Regions from separate parts of the Homo sapiens genome. Here region 1 is linked to region 2. Evidence: promoter capture Hi-C in human tissues and cell types (Jung and others, 2019). All regions are on one chromosome and are shown on one strand. Each heading gives the region's core, a stretch centred on a gene start or on the middle of the fragment in contact. The rest is flanking DNA. Distances are from core to core; before and after follow the strand shown. Region 1 overlaps COG3 (component of oligomeric golgi complex 3). Region 2 holds the start of COG3 (component of oligomeric golgi complex 3).

The links. The method cuts DNA at HindIII sites, captures the fragments that hold promoters and counts their contacts. A contact is called where the count stands out against the background at its distance.
Region 1: a fragment that was not itself captured here is called in contact with the fragment with the promoter of COG3 in region 2 in 2 of the 25 tissues and cell types used here (mesenchymal stem cells and mesendoderm cells).

The regions. Positions count from the first base shown.
Region 1 is chr13:45,505,428-45,509,594 of GRCh38, forward strand. All of the region lies in intron 14 of COG3 (component of oligomeric golgi complex 3), which reads left to right. Among named protein-coding and RNA genes, the nearest start is that of COG3, 43 kb to the left of the region's middle. The HindIII fragment of the contact is 4,110 bases long and covers 1-4,056 here.
Region 2 is chr13:45,463,260-45,466,884 of GRCh38, forward strand. It overlaps COG3 (component of oligomeric golgi complex 3), which reads left to right and starts at 1,680. Exons shown (of 23, transcript NM_031431.4): 1 at 1,680-1,951. The coding sequence starts at 1,778. The HindIII fragment of the contact is 8,447 bases long and covers 1-3,625 here.

The DNA.
Region 1 (4,167 bases), core at 752-3,251, 42 kb after region 2:
AGTAGCTGGGACTACAGGTGCACACCAGCACGCCCAGATAATTTTTGTATTTTTTAGTAGAGATGGGGTTTCACTATATGTTGGCCAGGCTGGTCTCGAACTCCTGACCTCAAGTGATCTGCCTGCCTTGGCCTCCTAAAGTGCTGGGATTACAGGCGTGAGCCACTGCGCCTGACCAATCCTGCTTTCTTTTTACTTTTTTTTTTTCTTTCAAAGAGATGAGGTCTCGCTGTGTTGCCCAGGCTGGTTTCGAACTTCTGTGCTCAAGCAATCCTCCTGTTTTGGCCTCCCAAAGTGCTGGGATTACAGGCATGGGCCACCATGCCCAGCCATTTTTTTCTTTTTTAATAGACATGGAGTCTCGCTATGTTGCCCAGGATGGGTCTTGAACTCCTGGGCTCAAGCAGTCCTCCCACCTTGGCCTCCCAAAGTGCTAGAATTACAGATGTGAGCCACTGTGCCTGGCCTCTTTTTACTCTTTTTTTGGAGACAGGGTCTGGTTCTGTCGGGCAGGATGGAGTGCAGTGGCATGATATTGGCTTACTGCAACCTCTGCCTCCTGGGCTTAAAGCCAACCTCCCACCTCAGCCTCCCAAGTAGCTGGGAGTGTAGGCTCATGCCATCACGCCTAGCTAACTTTTCTACTTTTTTAAAATGTGACGTTTTACTGTGTCACATTTATGATTTACATTATATTTCCATTGAACAGCACTGCCGTAGAGCTGTAGAGAGAAAGACTGATTTAGAAATAAAGGATGAGGTGTAGTTGGTGCTTTGGGCTTGTGTAAGATCATCCTAGGACAGATTGTAGAGTGACTGTAGCAGACGTCTTGGGAGAGAAACTGAGCCAGTGCTGACGTTAAGGAGCAAATGGAGATAGAGGAGTAAACTAAGCCCACCAAGAAAGAACAGCCAGCGTGGTCAGAAGTGGGCAAGTGAGAGGGTGTGATTGATGTCAGAGGAGGAGGGGTTGGCAGTGTAGTTTGCGTAAACAGGTGAGAAGATCGAAATCTCAAGAACATTGTAGTTATAAAGTGGCATGCTAAGTTTTAAAACTTTAGAGGTGGAACAGTTGAGAGGAAGAAGGAAGTCTGTGGAAAGTAATAAGAATGCGATTCTGCGAGTATTAAGAAAATCTGCCCCTGGGGTAGGGGTGTGAGGATGGAAGAGAAAGTCTTTGGAGTTGAGAAGGTAAGGATGAACAGCTCGTCATCTGTGCAGTTATCAGTGTTATCACAATGGCGATAGAACTTGGGGTGGAAAGCAAGGCTCTGAGTCAGGTAGGAAGTGGAGCAAAACCAAAAAGAATAGTCATAATCACTTTTCCTGGTTTCCCGGTTCCCTGGTTCCCACCTCTAAAGCTGGAAGTGAGAGAATGAGAAGCCTCTGAAAGGAGGGCTTTAAATGATGTGAAGTTCATGGCATACAAGGAGGTGTCAGGGCAGATTGGTGGAGGGACCCATCTTGTGAAGAGACCAGTTATCAGTACCTTCAAAAAGTACAGCTTTGTTCTGTATGTAGAGCAAGTAAGGGGGAGGTGAGGCCCGTGGAGGACGACGGAGGCAGACGTGCAGGAGGGCTGTGGGAGAAGCCCTGGTCCCGGGGCCTGCTCTGCTCCTCAGGAGTGGCAGCCAGAGGGCACTTGGCTTTTGAGGGTTTGCCCCGGTGAACTAGTATTAGTTACATAGGAAAGGGAAAAAATGAACACAAGCTGACTTCTGGCTTTAAAGTACTTAAACACATTTGTTTGACTAAACTTTTATTTGGGAGAATTCTTTTGGCACTTTATTTTGAAGAAGGGATCCTGCACATACCATATTCCTAAGGAAAACTATAAATATTTCATCTCCTAAATATTCTTTGATGTAATTTGTTTATTCTTTTTCTTTAAGAAACTTAATACAAATTAAATGTTAGTTTAAAGTGAGCTCTTATGGAAGAAATTTAAAAATTATACAAGTTAAATAGGAGTGGTGAGAGAGAGAGAAAAAAAAATTTTACAAGTAGTACTTGTTTTTGGAAAAAAAGCTTACAGAATTGTAAAGTGAAAGTACTGGCCAGGCACGGTGGCTCACACCTGTAATTCCAGCACTTTGGGAGGCCGAGGTGGGCAGATCACCCACGGTCAGGAGTTTGAGACCAGCCTGACTAACATGGCAAAACCCCATCTCTACTAAAAATACAAAAATTAGCTGGGTGTGGTGGCACATGCCTGTAATCCCAGCTACTCGGGAGGCTGAGGCACAAGAATTGCTTGACCCCAATAGGCGGAGGTTGCAGTGAGCTGAGATTGTGCCACTGTACTCCAGCCTGGGCAACAGAGCCAGACTCTGTCTCAGAAAAAAAGAAAAAAAAAAAAAGCCTGGGTGTGGTGGCTCATGCCTGTAATCCCAGCACTTTGGGAGGCTGAGGTGGGTGGATCACTAGGTCAGGAGATCAAGACCATCCTGACCAACATGGTGAAACCCTGTCTCTACTAAAAGTACAGAAAATTAGCCGGGTGTGGTGGCATGAGCCTGTGATCCCAGCTACTCAGGAGGCTGAGGCAGAAGAATCACTTGAACCCAGGAGGTGGAGGTTGCAGTGGGCTGAGATTGCGCCGCTGCACTCCAGCCTAGGTGACAGAGCCTAGGTCCAACCTAAAAAAAAAAAAAAAAAAAAAAAAAAAAAAAGGAAAGAAAGCACTAAGCTTCAACCTTTCTCCCTCATCCCTTTCCCCTCAAATCTGTGCTATACAACCTACAGGCCTTCTTGTAAGAATATGCTGCTATAACCATTTATAAAAAGGAATTAATGTTTGCTCTGTAACTTAATACCAGTGTATCATAGATCTACTTCTATTTTCTTATTATTGAAAACATTCCAAATATACAGAAAAGTTGAAAGAAAGATGAATGATGAACACCCATACCCACAACTTGGATTCAAGACTTAACATTTTATTTTTTATATATATTTTTATATATATATATATATACACACACACACACACACACACATACACATATATATACATATATGTGTATGTGTGTATTTGTATGTGTTGGGGTGTGTGTGTAAATATATATTTTATGAACCATTTTAAATTATTGACGTCATTGACACTTCACCCTTGAGTATTTCAGCATCTCCAAAAAATAACGACATCTTTTACTTAACAATAAACCATTATTGCACTAAAAATTTAATGAGTTTGCTAATGTCCTCTAATGCCTAGTCCATCTTTCAATATCACCTGTTGTCTCAAAGTATTATACCAGCTCCACTTTTCATGGTTCATTTGAAATTTGGTCCCTCGACCCAGAAGTGATTGTACTTCCCTTACAGAGGTGTCTTTGCTCAACCATACTCCCCACCTGCTCTTCCTCACAGTCGCCAGAGTCTGCCTTTTCTGACCTTCCCAGTGGTGGGGGGAAGCCCGCTCTGGTCACCTGGGAATTGGATGTACTAACTAGGCCTGTATGTGATTTGACTCAGAGTGTGGAAGACAGTCTGACAGGTGAACCTAATTTGATTAATCCCCCTGTTTAGAAGTGCTTTGTTTTCTTGTTACTCCCCCACCTCCACAGGCTCCCACCTGCTTCCTTCCTCATGACTACATAGAGATCTGCTTCCTTTTTTTTTTTTTTTGAGACGGAGTCTCACTTTGTTGCCCAGGCTGGAGTGCAGTGGCGAGATCTTGGCTCACTGTAACCTCCGGCTCCCAGGTTCAAGCGATTTTCCTGCCTCAGCCTCTCGAGTAGCTGGGACTACAGGCACACGCCACCACGCCTGACTAATTTTTGTATTTTTAGTAGAGACGAGGTTTCACCACATTGGTCAGGATGGTCTTGAACTCCTGACCTCATGATCCGCCTGCCTCGGCATCCCAAAGTGCTGGGGTTACAGGCGTGAGCCACTGTGCCCAGACGATCTGCCTCCTTTTTAATGGCTGCATTCTATAATGTGATTATGCTTTTCCTATGTTCCATAAAGATTATTGATCACAATTTGGGAAAAGCAACTTGGGTTGAGCATATATATATGAAGCTGGAATGTATGTATGTCCATATTCATGTGTATTCTCAGTTACTGTGTTAAATCTCACCTGTCACTGATTTAGATTTCTTAGGGTATTCTTGATGAAAACTGAGGTGGGAAAAAATTGGTGCCCTCTAGCTACTTATA
Region 2 (3,625 bases), core at 430-2,929:
AAGCTGTGGTATATAAAGGGTGTCAGACACAGTCAGGATATCTAAGTTCCAGTGGTGACGCTGATGTTAACCACCTGATTGCAGGATGTTAGGCTGCTTGCTTCACCTCTACGGGTTGTAGTTTGCTCCTCTGTAGACAGAAAGGGCTTGATTATATGATTTTAAAATTCTCTTCCAACTTCAAATTCTATTCTTTTTTTTTTTGAGACAGAGTTTAGCTCTTGTTGCCCAGGCTGGAGTGCAATGGTGCAACGTTGGCTCACAGCAACCTCCGCCTCCTGGGTTCAAGCGATTCTCCTGCCTCAGCCTCCCGAGTAGCTGGGATTACAGGCATGCACCTCCACGCGCAGCTAAGTTTTTTTGTATTTTTAGTAGAGACGGGATTTCTCCATGTTGATCAGGCTGGTCTCGAACTCCCGACCTCAGGTAATCCGCCCACCTCGGCTTCCCAGAGTGCTGGGATTACAGGTGTGAGCCACTGCGCCCGGTCTCAAATTCTGCTCTTAAAAGATCAGAGCCTTCATTTGGGAACATAGCCAGGCACTGATTTGTGCTATAAAGCCTGAATAAAGCCTTCAGACTTTACCCAGACAATGGTCAAAATTGCTACGAAGCTGTTTCCACCTGCCTTGACTCCAGGGAGGAGCAGGAAGAGGCCTCCATAACTTGTAGAAGATTGTCTGTTCTCCACCATTTATTTATTCAATCGTTTATTTATAGCAGTATGGACTCATGGGTATTTATTTTATTCTGTAAATTATGATCCAATACTATCATTATTTATTTTGTTGCTCAAATCTACAATATGATTTAAATGGTAGAGTAGAATTACATGTCTGTACCACAAATTATTATTATTATACATTTTGAGACAGTCTCACTTGATGCCCAGGCCGGAATGCAGTGGCAAGATCTCTGCTCACTGCAACGTCCACCTTCCAGGTTCAGGAGATTCTCCTGCCTCAGCCTCTCAGGCTGATTACTGGCATGTGCCACCACGCCTGGCTAATTTTTGTGCTTTTAGTAGAGACGGGGTTCAACCATGTTGGCCAGTCTGGTCTCAAACTCCTGACCTCAGGTGATACGCCCACCTCGGTCTCCCAAAGTGCTGAGATTACAGGCCTGAGCCCCCGCGCCTGGTCTGTGCCACAAATTCTTGATCCAGTTCTTCAATGTTGGACATTTAGGTTGTCTCCAGTTATTTGATACCATTAATGATGTCTGAGATACACACATCTTTGAATTTTTTATGTGTTTCCGTAAATTAGTTTTCTAGTAGGGGAATTACTGGATGTTGGAAAAGTTTATGCTTTTGGTTTTGATCCAAGAGGCATAAATTGTCAACATGCCAACATGGAAATCATACACTCCACACATTCTACCCAGACTACCCAGCTGTAAGCAGAGAGGTGTAGATCCAAGTCTCCTGCCGGCAGGGTGATTTAGCGCAGTTGTCAATAATCTGTACAACACGTAACAATAAAGTTATTGATGTTGAGGAAAAGACTTCCGGTAGGGGCATTTCTATTTCCATTGGGTCCTGTCTTCTCCACCTTCTACGTTTCAACCGGAAATAGTCGTACCCATTTAAAGCCACGTCGGTACTGGCCTCGGTCCCGCCCCCCACACTGCGGAACCGTTTCCGGGGTCAGGGCATTCCGTCCCGCCCCGCCGCCGGTGCAGTGTTGGAAGCTCCGGTTCTCCCGGAAGTGGCCCAGGTCTCTCTGTCGGGGTCCCCTCCATCTCGCTGCTGCTGAAGGCCGCGAGGGCGGCGGCGATGGCGGAGGCGGCGCTGTTGCTGCTGCCTGAGGCGGCGGCGGAGCGGGACGCTAGGGAAAAGCTGGCTCTCTGGGATCGGAGACCGGACACGACGGCGCCGCTGACCGACAGGCAGACGGACTCGGTATTGGAGCTGAAGGCGGCGGCAGAGAACTTGCCGGTGCCAGCTGAGGTGAGGTGATGGGCAGGAACCGGGCCGGGGCGATGGGGCTGGGATTCTCCTCGGGCGCCCCGGCAGGACCCCGGCCTCACTAGCCTCTGCCCAGGATATCTCTCCACTCCTCCCTGGCCATGGTGGCGGATCCGGTGGGAGGGGCCTCATCTCCCAGGCTGTCAGGCTTCGCTCTGCCTGCGACCCCGACTCTAATTCTGCCTGGGGACGGCTGTGGGGGTGTCCTGCAGCTGGTGCTCGCCGGAACCCAGTCCTCCCCCAGCAGCATGGGACGGTTGGCCCGGAGCCTTGCACCGAACGTTTTGCCCCAGACGAGGCGTCCTGTCAGCCGAGGCGTAATCCTGCTGCCCACTCTCTCCCAGAAGGAGAGGCAGTCAACCCGAGGTGCTGTGCTGCAGGACAGTCTCCAGCGCGTGCTCGTTTACCGCCTTAATGATTCACCTAGGTTGCTTTGTCCATGGGGGTCTTGGGGAGACCAAAACTTGGTCCTGAGTGAGTTTCATTTATCGCACATTGAACTATGAGCTCTCAATCAAGTGCAAGTTATGGGAGATCAGATTTATTTCACCTATTGCAAAGCAATAAAAATGAATTTTATTTGAAAGTTGGCTCAGTACATTATTAAGCAGTGCTGGTTTTCGGTGTTAGAGTCAATGTGTTTAATCCACTTACCATTAGGATATTATGCACTACTGCTTCTTGTGTGATTCAATTCAATTAGTTGTAATAGCAGGAAGTAACATGAATTGTCAGATGTTTGACAAACGTTTTCCAGTTTTGAGGGCCAGGTTTAGGAGGATTATTTTATATAAGCAGTGGTGATGGTTACTTTTGATGTTGGAAGCATTCTTTTCTCTCGCTCTGTCGCCCAGGCTGGAGTGCAGTGGCGTGACCTCGGCTCACTGCAACCTCCACCTCCCGGGTTCAAGCGATTCTCCTGTCTCAGCCTCCCGAGTAGCTGGGATCACAGGTGCCTGCCACTACACCCGGCTAATTTTTTGTATTTTTAGTAGAGATGGGGTTTCGCCCTGTTGTCCAGGCTGTTCTCGAACTCCTGACCTCAAGTGATCTGCCCGCCTCGGCCTCCGAAAATGCTGGGATTACAGTCGTGAGCCACCGTGCCTGGCCTGAAGCATTCTTTTTATACGATTTGGAATTGTGTCCAAATGCAGATTGAGTTTAGAGTCTTCAACTTTTTCTGTCCTCCAACTTTAGAGATTTGATTTAAACGTTCTCTTCACATTCACTGTTGTATGCTCAGCCATCAAATAGGCGTTCTTTCTTGGGTTTCTTTTTCCACCTCTAGGATATGGTACCGGAAGTGGATCTGAAATCAATGAAGGCGCAGGTGGAAATTTCTTTGGCTCAGCTATCAAACTCTTTTATACCCTGGATAATAAAAGTTGTTTGCTCTATAAATTTTCCAGTCTGTTTATAATTGATTTGGCTCCTACTGCAGCAGGATGCTTGGACTTAATAGCACTGAGGGTGTGATGGGGGAGATACATATTCTACAAAAAAATTTGTTTTCATTGTCATGGGTCATAAACTATTATTTCTTATTCTCATTGAGCATGAAGGAGAACGTTTGGAATGAACTAAATGGAATCTTTCATTTTCACCCCATTCTTCCATATTTATCATTAGCCACATGCAGTCTTTAACATATGTTAT